Linked DNA regions of Homo sapiens: region 1 is linked to region 2. Evidence: promoter capture Hi-C in human tissues and cell types (Jung and others, 2019). All regions are on one chromosome and are shown on one strand. The core of a region is centred on a gene start or on the middle of the fragment in contact, and the rest is flanking DNA. Distances in the headings are between cores, read along the strand shown.

Region 1 (5,547 bases), core at 677-3,176, 530 kb before region 2:
GCTGATTCCAGAAAAGGACATTTTGCTTGGCTCTCTCCATACCTACTCCCTGTCTGACTAACATTGTCCTGCTGTTACATATTTGGCATGACATCAAGTAATTATTCAGGCTTTTCTGCATTAGAAGAGAGTTCTATTTTATAGAAAAATTATCATTGAGTGGAAGAACATGCTGAATTCTCTGTGGATCCTTTAAATTTACCTATGGGAAACTAAACTATTTGGAAAATAGTACTATTATCTGGTTTCCAGATCCACTTATGGCTACTTACTGCTTGCTGACATAGTACACAGAAGAAAATAACTTTTAAACATCAGAAGCTAAATATTATCTTAGTCTTTCTCTTTAATTTTTTCAGTGAAAAATTCCTAATTTGTTTTTCCAAAGCCAATGGATGTTTCAATGTTTCAGGTAGAATGGGGCCAATGTCATGCACTCAGAAAGGCAGAGAAAAAAAAATTAATAATTTTCAAAATATACCTAACCCTGTCCTCCCCAGTTAGCTTGGAAACCTTAATAGTCTTTTAACTTTTCTATTTTACCTTTGAGAGCAAACCTCTGTGGTTGCAAGTGTATGCTTGCAGGCCAAATTCAACCTTGAAGATGTGTTTTATTGGCTCACACAGTGTTTAAAATTTTTCTGAACCAACATTTAGAAATTGGGAGCTTTCATGTAAACATTCAGCTTTCTAGCTTCTTTTAAAAAATTGGAAGACTTGTCCACACTGGGCAATCTTCCTACATAGTACTTTTTGGCTGAGCTGGACTTGAGAAGGGCCATGCTCTTGCTATTTTGATATAGTCAATTACCCCGGCCCGTTTCTTTCATGTAATAGATAAGTCTGTTCTCATCTGGGCACTTGCATCTGCAATATCTAGAACTCATCATACCTGTCTGCCCTTTGTCTTCCACCAATCTCTGGGGGACAGGTGTCTCTTATTTTTGAGAGGCCTTCTTTTTAGCTCCTGAATCTTCTAAAGATTTTAGCTCCTGAATCTTCTAAAGATTCAGGTGGGGCAGAACAGTGGAGGTAAGCTGATTAAGTATTCAAGTACCTCTTAAGTCTCAGGTGAAACACAACCAAATTCATTGACGGTCATCAGTTTTAGGGGAATTCTTGGCTAGTAATCTCGGAAACTCCCTTTCCTTGCGAGCTCCTGGAAATAATAGGTCATTTTATAAGCCGGTGAATGAAAAGTTCAGATGTCAGTGAGAAATACTTTTCAGCAAAGTCTCTTTATTCTCTACTCAAAATAATATTGGTAAATAATGAAATGTTACTTATACTAATTACTCAAACCACTGGTAGTGTAGTGTCTTTCCTAAATAGTTGAATGATTTCAAAGGTCCAAACAGGAATTAGAGATCCCCTGCCCTCTATTCCACTCCAGCTATCTTTCTTAAGGAAGGCAGAATAAAAAGGGATTTGTCTGGGTGGAATGCAATATCCAGAAACTGGTCATTGCTTCCATCCCTTAATGGGTCTGATCTCCTTTAATACTCAAGGTGATGGACAGTGATGATCTCTGATTAATACTTTTACTTTCTCACATGCGGGTATTAAAAACCAATTTTTAGCAGAGATTTTCTATCAGAGATAACTCAGTGTAAGCCAAAAAAATTAGTAGTCCATGGACTTTGTTATTGCTATCAATTACATAAATGATTTCATTAGAAGGGGAAGCCTCACTGTGCCTGATCAAAGTTTAGAAGTTTGTATGTTCACTGACAAGGAAGCATTGTAACATGGCAAATGGCCAAGAGAGTCCCCAGCTGTCCCACTTCTTCAGGATGATTTAACGGTCTGACTTACCCTACCTCAAAGTCTCCTTTACCTCCAACCAACTCTACAAAATATAAGTCACCTTAAGCCTGTGGCTCTCAATCCTTAATGAGGGAGCTTATACAATGCAGATTCCTGGGTCCTACCTTTAGAGACTCCAGTTTCACCAGTTCTGGGATGGGGCTGAGGATTCTGCATTTTTAAGAAACCCTTGCAGGTAACTCTGATGCAGGTGATATGTATATATACATTGAAAAATCACTGCCTAAGGGCATTCTAGCATCTTGATGTTAAAATCATACTAAGGATATAACTCTCTAACATCCTCTCCTGAAAACACATTCTAATGTTGATGGTGGGATTTGGGAGGAGATCATATACGTTAAAAGTTGACACATCATAAAGATGGGACCAAGGTACATAAAATTGGGACTTTTTGCAAACCTAATTCGTCATAATTTCATGAAGCTTCTTGTGTAGTAATAAAATTTTAGAATAGGCATACAGCACAAGACAGAATAAATGATGGAAGAGAAAAACATTTATCTTCTAAAGAGGTATCTTTTTTTTTTTTTTTTTGACAGGTCTCACTCTGCCATCCAGACTGGAGTGCAGTGGCACAATATTGGCTCACTGCAACCTCTGCCTCCCAGGTTCAAGTGATTCTCCTGCTTCGCCTCCTGAGTAGCTGGGATTACAGGATGCGCCACTACCGCCTGGCTAATTTTTTTTTTTTTTTTTTTTTTGTATTTTTAGTAGAGACGGGGTTTCACCATGTTGGCCAGGCTGGTCTCAAACTCCTGGCCTCAAATGATCTACCCACCTCAGCCTCCCAAAGTGCTGGGATTACAGACATGAGCCACTGCACCCGGCCTTGTTTTTTTTTTTTTTTTTTTTTTTTGGTAGAGACAGGTCTTGCCATGTTGGCCAGGCTGATCTCGAACTCCTGAGCTCAAGCGATGAGGCTCCCCTCGGCTTCCCAAAGTGCTGGGATTACAGGTGTGAGCCTCTATGCTCCTCCCAAAAGGGGCATCATTAAAAGGCTTTAGATAGTGCTTGAAGTTGAATGGAATGGGGAAACTATCAACTTTTACTTTTCTGAAAATTAGTTAAGAAGATTTTCTATTACAAGTAACAGATTATCCAATCATTAATTACATAATCCACAAAGACATCCAAATATCTCAGCAAACAAGTAGTCTGCAAGTAGGGGGTTCCAGATGACCCAGGTACCCTCTTCTCTGCCTTCCTCAGACTGCTGGCCTATTGTTCTAGACTTAACCACCTCACAGTGACAAGATTGTTGCATCCTTATATATTTAAAGCAGAAAGAAAGGATTATTTTACTTTGAGTAAGACCCTCCTAGAAGTCTAGTCAGCAGACTTCCCCTTATATCTCATTGGTCAAAATTAGGCAAAACTAAGTCACATTAACCATTAACAAAGCAGGATGAGATTACACTCTTCATTTAGACCAATTATGGTTCATTTCCTCTTCTGGAGGGAAAACCCACCTTCTCTGAAATGCTACTGCTAGAAATAATTCAAGGTTCCTTAAATTGCTATATAAACAATGAAAAATTAGGGAATGTTAGGCAACCAACCATATCTACCTCAGTTTTGAAATTATCCTTTGGATTTTAGTGGTTGCAGAATCCTAGGAATGCATTGAGAATGGGGTGGTAGGTTGAGTAAGTGAAAGGTTATGGTCAGAATTACTTCTGGGAATGGTGGTAGGGTAGGGTAGAGTGGGAATGGGTATATGGGAGAGATAACTTGGAGGAAGAGTTGGCCTGTTTTGGTCCTTGGTAAGAACTTAAAGGGTTTGTAAAGCTCATATTATCACAAGGAATAATAAATACAAGTGACAGAAAGCTTGTTACATCTTCTAATGTTCTTTTGGTTATTTCTGGAACCTATCTGTAAGATTGCTTATGGCAATAACTCAGTATCTTACTGCTTCTATTTGAATATAAAACAAAGTATAATTTCACCTTCTTACAACTCACTTACATAAAAGACGACAGTAAATAGTACTGTATAGTGTTTGATTTTTATCATCAATCCTGGAGATCACATAGATATTCAGATATGCTAGAAAAAGAAATGTCAACAAACATAATGCATTTGTTTATTTTGTGTGTTGCTTTGTTCCAAAAATACTTGAAGTAGCTTAAAAGAATGTGTCTAATATAAACAGAGTCAGAAGTGGAAATGTCAGCCTAACACCTAAGGAGTACAAATTTGCTTTTGTTTAATTATACATAACACAAAATGGTGAAAAATAAATTTAACCCTTTCTGTGACTAATGTTAGACTTTTAAAGATTATTATTTCGAAATTAAAATCCAAATTATTGCAATTGAGAAGTTTTTGTTTTCAACTATGTCCTCATTAAAATTGTTTAAAACAAAGGAATTTGTTCTTTTGTAAAAGTTTCAAAACACTAAACTTGAACATTGATTTACATGTCAACACACTTAATGATTACTTAAATTTTTACTTCACGAAAATTTAATTTCTATTTCAGAAGTAGAGTTTATATTTAATAGTTATTGACATTTTAAACATTTAAAGACAATTGATATGAACAATATTGAAGAAATGGGTGTCCACTGACATTTTATGAGGAAGTTAAATTTTACTGAAGTGAATTGGAAATTGCTGTTGTTTCAAAATAATTAATGCAATGCAATGCTCTTCAACTTTAATAAAGGATCATCCTTTCTTGAAATATGAAGGGAATTGACAACAACATGTAATATTGTCTTTTTAAATTAAAACCTTAAACTTTGGAAAATAAATCCTGCAGAGTGGCTTAATAATAGGGATCCTCTTGATTGTTTTTTTCAGTTAAGCAATTAGAAAACAGCAAAGATTTTAATCTCCTTTTCCCTCAAAAATGAAAAACATTCCATCTGTGTTAATGGCATAAAAAATTTAACCTTAAACATTTGTAATAGAATATAAAATTCTTCATACCAGACTTTATAATAGAAAATAAGCTTAATCTAAATTATATTTTTTTGTTTTGCCAATTATGTATGTACGTGTATACATATATGTCTATGTGTGTGTATCTGTGTATGATCTGAGAAACTTTTCACAATCACTTAAAATATAATATTTTTTTTTTTGAGATGGAGTCTCCCTCTGTTGTCCAGGCTGGAGTGCAGTGGCGAGATCTTGGCTCACTGCAACCTCTGCCTCCCGGGTTCAAGTGATTTTCCTGCTTCAGCCTCCTGAGTAGCTGGGATTACAGGCACGTGCCACCACACCCGGCTAATTTTTGTATTTTTAGTGGAGACGGGGTTTCTCCATGTTGGTCAGGCTGGTCTCAAACTCCTGACCTCGTGATCCACCCGCCTCGGCCTCCCCAAGTGCTGGGAATACAGGCGTGAGCCACCACACCCGGCCAAAATATAATTTTTAAGAACTGAAAAGTGAGTTAATTGAAATAGTTATCTGACTTAGTCCTCATTTATTCAAGACTTTTCGAATTACTTAGGTTAATGATGGCAAAACCAAAAGCACATAAATCAAATAGTATAAAAAGTTAACATAGAGGGATTGAGTTAAAAAGGAGCATTCTAATCCAGTCTGGGCAAATGAAGGTCAGATTAAGCAGTGATTGTTGAGAGTTAAATGTTAGTGAGAAATGCACTAAAGTGTACCATCTGCTTTTTTTTCCTTCAAAATTGGCTTTATGTGTATCACATTTATCATTACACTGTAGTGTTATTGAAATACAACTGTTTCATA
Region 2 (5,958 bases), core at 2,337-4,836:
AGCCACTGTGAGATCCTGAAACTCAACATTCTCATCTATAATATATCTGATTGTGTATTAAGGAAGAGTAATCTGGAAACAAATCAACCACTGCTTGATATAAAGGAGCAGGGGATCTGTTTTTTAAAATCAACAGAAAATCTAAAATCTTGACACTAATTCATCAGCCTTCAACTATAATGATCATTTAATAATTCCTGTAGTACTTTGGGGATCATAATGAGGCTAATCCCAGCCACAGTTTTCATGTTTGCCTGCTGATAGGGGTCTTTAAACTTATTCTCTAAGAATGAGAGTGATAAATTCAATAATATTGCTTTTTATTTATATAGCACCTATCATTCCAAGCAGTCCAAAGGCCTTCAAATAATAGATATACTTGCAGACTAGACATCACAAATGCTTTTGAAACATGGCAGGTTATTAACTAAACAAGTAACTCACTTGTGGACTAATTTTAAATGCATGTGTCCTTGCTTTTTGAATATGGTAACTGAGAAAAGTAAACCCTCCTGTAAACCTAATACCATTTAGCTTGTTCAGCCACACACTGTGCTTTTTGAGGTATAAATTCTAGCAATAAAATATCAATTTTTTGAAGTATCGACCCCCAAAGTGCCAGCTGGTATGATTGATTATCTGTGATGCGCCATTTCACTCTACTCTTCCGGAAGTACAAAGACACAGGTTAAGCAGAGAAGATATGGCAGATAAGGAAAACCCCAGGAAAAGGAAACCAGTGGTATCCTTTTGTGGGGATCACAGAGACTTGATAAGGGAAGAAGTTTGGCCTTTATAGGATTCAAATTCATTTTTAATCAATTGTAAGTAAAAATGCCAAAGATGATTCACCTCTTTCTTGACCCAGCCAGACTTCTGCAATCTGATTTCTTGTTTTCATTTATGCAAAAAAAAGGAACAATATGCCCACTGTGAACTAATTTGGTGATGTTTCTGGAAAGTAAGTGGGGAAAGGGGGAAGCAAAGTAGTCCCCCATCCCACTGTAGCTGATATATCTGAGGTTATCTTATGTACTCCTGTAACGTGCTGCTTTCTGCCATGCTGGATGATTTCCAGTGGAAACTGGTAAATCAAACCAGAGACTCCTTCGAGAACAGCAATGGAACTTAACAGGCAGTGTAGGAACCCAGGATTCCCTTGACTCAGCTAATCCCTCACAAGGCCACTGCCTGGGACTGCCTCGTTGATGCACGAAAGAGGAACCAGTAGCATTCCTTTGTATCCTCCCTGTCCCCTTACGTTGTGGCACTTGAAATTACTGTTTAAGGAGGGTTTGGTTTCTTCGGCCCTCAAGAAAGATGTAATGAATGAAATAGTGGAACAAACCAGCTCCGTTTAAGCAGATAATGCTTGTTTATTTAGACTAGAGGACTTATAAAAATATATAGATTCCAGATTGCACCTTAGGCATCAGACTGTGCAGTTGGGGCTCGGGAATCTACATCTTTACAATATGGCCTAGGTAATTATGATTCTTAGCTAAGTTTGAAAACTGAGGGACTAGATTTTCAAATATACCCCTAAATCCTACCCAGATTTTAGTTTTAAATCTATTTCTTTCTCCTTAGGCTCTAGTCAGAGACAAAGTAGGATACTCCTCCCTTTCCCAGGCCTTTATATCCATAGAATGAGTGTTGAATAATTTATCCCATTGCTTAGCAAACATTTGTTTCATATGCTAAATGAAGACACAAACCCAGAAATGTTAAGTGGCTGGGTCAAGGTTGCACTGTATATGAATGAGAACACCATGGCAAGAAAGCTGGATGTCTTAGCCTCCATGGCCAGATGACCACCCTTTTTTTTTCTCTTTTTTTCCTGAGTAAGAAAAATGGAGGCATCTAGGGGGCTTCCTTGAAAAAATCAGACATAAATTAGGGTAAGTGTAGATGTTCATCTCCAAGCAACATTTCTCTCTGAGATGAACCTATAGATTAAAAAAGACTTGAGAAACATATCAACCAAATACAATGTGTGGACCTTTGGGTCCCAATTTGCAAAAAATGTAAAGATAAAAAAGTTTATGAGACAATCAGGAAAATAAGAACACTGTGTGGATGCTTAATTACATCAAATAATCATATTTAATTGTTATGTGCGTGACTATCTTATTATGGTTATCTATTTTTAAATCCTCACATTTTAGAAATATACACTGAAATATTTATTAATGCAATGATGTCTGGATGCTTCAACTCCAGTGGTGTAATAAGGGGGAGAACAGCTATAATGAAACACATAGTTTTAAGACACGATTGTCTATGAGTTGATAATATTGAAGCCAAGTGATGAGTATGCAGGGCTTATTGTGCTATTCTCTCCTATTCATGTATTTTTAAATTTTTTCATCATAAAACATTTTAAATGTATTTCTCAAAAGGGCTGGCTTACAGTTTTGTAGGTTATTTAACTTACCTGTATAATAATATGCTTATTAGTGAGGTACATAACTTGATAGAATAACAATAACTTTACATATTCAGGAAAAATCACCTTGTCTCTCCACCATGGCTTTTGTGGAAGATGAGATGAATAGCAGACATTTAAAGTAGAAACTATGACTCTCCAATAACAAGACTCTCTTTCAAAGTAGCACAACACTTCTGTCATCTGTTACACTGTGATTAGCCTAAAACTGCAGTAGATAGACTACTGAAACAATTAAAGCATTCAAGAATTATAAAAGATCAATCACCTACTTCATAAAAATTTTCATAAACCAGACTATACTTGGGGAATTGTTAATTGCCTCAAAGTAAAATGAGGGCAGCCACCCAGATCTGGTTAGGAGGTAAATTCATTACAGTGTCAAGTTTAACACCAATTTCCAAATGCACATAAGAAGCTGCAGAGTCCAGACTTCGAGGCTAAACAGCTCTGCCTTTCTCCTTAGTCCTGCCCACTACCTTCTTTCTGAATCTGCGAAGAGCTGTGACTCTTGAAGGGCAGGACCTACCAGCATTCATTATGACTTCAGTTATGGCAAGCTCTCAAGTTAAATTAATGGTGTTTGGGGTTTATGTTTCCAAACAGTAAGGAAATAGCCAACGAGTAAAACTGGAAATTACTTTCTCCTATGACCTAGAAGTAGCAATAAGAACTCTAAGTGGGAAACAGAAATAGGACTCTGGAAAGATAATGTTTTGTGTGTTTATTTTTCTTCCAGAACTCCAAATAGTTGCCTTGGCAGGAAGGCTGCCCTCTAACTGCTCCCTTCCGAAGACTAGGAGGTGTTTACAGAAATTGAAAGTTCCAGCAGTACATTTCCATGAGCTCATTACCAGTTCCATTTATACCTTTTAGATTTCACATGCACAAATGAATGTCCTTGCAGTATAAACTCCTGCTTTCAGCTTGCATTTTAATTACAAACAAAGTAGCAGAAATCAGGTACTCAGTTACTGTAACATAAGGGCAGGGCATCTTTAGAATCTGTGCTTTGTTCACTATTATTCAAAGCAGCTCCAATGCCCGTCTTGCCTGCCTCTTTATGCTAATCATCCTAGCCCACTTTGCTCCTCCTCCTTCCAGAGTCCCTTAAGAACTGTACACTTTCAGCTGTCACAGAGGGTAACTCAGATCAGGCTTAGAAATCACTTGACTTAACTCAGCAGCACTTTTTCTTTTCTTTGTGTCTGTATTATTTTAGCAGCCTTCTCTAAATACTGGAGGCATTGGATTTCATGTCGCCAAAAGGAATTTAAAAATGACAAAAGTGTAATCTGTTAGAAATAGTTAATTTGTAGAATTTTACTCTATAAGGAGGTTTAGTTTCAATTTGTTTTGAAATGAAGGAATTAAGTTGTGTTTTTAACCAAATGAATTGGCATCTTTATATTTAGGAGAAGTAACATTGGTGATTATTTATTTCAAGAATCATGACTGGAAAAAGCTTGGAAGTTTAGTAGAGGAGTATATGTTGTACATGCAAAGACAAGATCTGCATGAATCTATGTATTTCTGGGTGTCTGGTGAAGGCCACTTTAGGTGACTGGCCAGAGAAGGAGGTGCCCTAGTGATCCTTGAGTCACAGCCATACTGCTAGGACCATGACTACCATACCAAGAAAAGGCAGCAGCCACCTGCCTGGCAGTTTGCACACCTGTAAACTGAAGCTGCAGGAGGACCGGCGACAGCAAGGTGAGTCCGTCCAGCTCATGAGTTGCATATTCTGTGACCTTCTGTGCATTTGCATTCCAGGAAGAATGGTGGGCTGGTGAAGGACCCGGGGAAGCTCTGACATAATAGTGATGCATAAGGGTGGGTTAACTTGGATTCACTATTGATTTTTAGAGGACTATGGAAGACTGTCAAGAATGCATATTCCTTGGAGCTGTCATTCTGAAACTTACATGCTTAAACTTCTAGCCACTGTGTTTTTTAGAGTATGCTAGATTTTGTCTAATTCAAAACACCCATCTGAGCAAGGCTGAGTCAGCTACAAGGGGGATTTCAGCTGAGAGTAGCTTTAAGTTAGCCTGGAGCTTTCTCTACCATAGTACCACTGGTGGGACACTTTTTTCACTTTGTTTAAGCCTAAGTTTGTCTGGATCTCTGGCTCATTCATTGTGGGAAAAATAAATATATTCTTGACTCTTTCCTTTTTATGGTCCAGGGACATCTGGAGACAGTCAGGGAAAAGTGTCACATTTCACTTGCTGGGCACTCATTCAAACTAAACTATCTACCTCCCAGCCATTTTCACCATCAGTCTTTTTAAATTTTCAAATCCACTCTCCAGCCAGCTGAGTTAGTGTCAGATGGTTGACATGAATAGACAAGATGATCCCTCCAATCCACCCTGTCAGGGACAGCAAATGACACTTGTGGGAAAGGCTGGGTCTCTCATGGATGACATCATCACTCCACAGAGGTTAAGGATTCACCAGACACTTCTAACTTCTCCTCAATAACCTAGGATAGATCTTTTTATGTGTAGGTCTAGGCAATGAGCTCTTTAATTATTTTTCTGTAGACGCAGTTTTAGATTTCAGTGGTGTGGAGAGTGTTGGCTAAAGGGCCAAAACCTCCCATTTCCAAGATGGAATCTGTGTGCTAACAGTCACATGAATGTGTCAGGCCACCTCTCTGCATCGGTTCCTGGAGCTGTATAACATGACTTCATGCTCTACAAGGCTTAGCATAGTGTCGGCAGAAAATACTTCATGGTAAATGAAAACAATGTGAACTTTTAGACCATGCTTTACTACTAGTGCTCAAATAAATTTTGAACCAAGTACCCTAGAATGTAAAGTCCTGGAATGTGTCAGGGTTAAGGCATAGCACTGTAAAATGCTCTTGCTTCTCTGTTAGTAAACAATTCTAGTTTATCAGAGGTTTTTGTTTTCTGTTGACTTTGTATGAAATGTTAAAGTGACTTCCCCCCACTTCAATTGCTAATATGATAATTTTAATAGAAAATTTGGTGGGGGTGAGCCTAAAGAAGTCACCTGTAACCCCACCACCCAAAGATAATTGCTATTAACATTTTAATGTATAAACTTCTAGACTTTTCTTCTATGCACTTGTATGGATTATTCCTTTGCTTGCTTTTTAAACAATATAGACTTGTTCTGGATACTTTTGTAAACAGTGTTTTGTAAACTGCTTTTTAATTTAATGACAGAGGATGAACAAATTTCCAGGTCATTAAATATTCTTCTACAACCTTATTTTTAACAGTTGCACACTGTTCCTTTATATGGATGTAGCAAAATTCCCTTAGGCAATTCTCTACTGTTAGATATATTATTTATTTCTAATATTTTAACTATTATAATTAACACTGGACTGCACCTAAACTAATGAATAGATCTTTGCACTGATATGGGATTATTTTCTTCGCATAAATTCTTAGAAGTGAAATTGTGGAGTCAAAGGATTATACATTCTTAAAAATTGTTTTTGGCCAAGTGACCCTCCTATCAGCAGTGTTG

Evidence for each region. The method cuts DNA at HindIII sites, captures the fragments that hold promoters and counts their contacts. A contact is called where the count stands out against the background at its distance.
Region 1: a fragment that was not itself captured here is called in contact with the fragment with the promoter of RANBP3L in region 2 in 2 of the 25 tissues and cell types used here (dorsolateral prefrontal cortex and spleen).

What each region holds. Positions count from the first base shown.
Region 1 is chr5:36,830,893-36,836,439 of GRCh38, reverse strand. No RefSeq gene overlaps it. Among named protein-coding and RNA genes, the nearest start is that of NIPBL-DT, 43 kb to the left of the region's middle. The HindIII fragment of the contact is 4,598 bases long and covers 1-4,225 here.
Region 2 is chr5:36,299,530-36,305,487 of GRCh38, reverse strand. RANBP3L (RAN binding protein 3 like) reads left to right here and starts at 3,586. Exons shown (of 14, transcript NM_145000.5): 1 at 3,586-4,162. The coding sequence starts at 4,072. The region is part of intron 1 of LOC124900962 (a long non-coding RNA gene); the gene reads right to left. The HindIII fragment of the contact is 10,640 bases long and covers 1-5,957 here.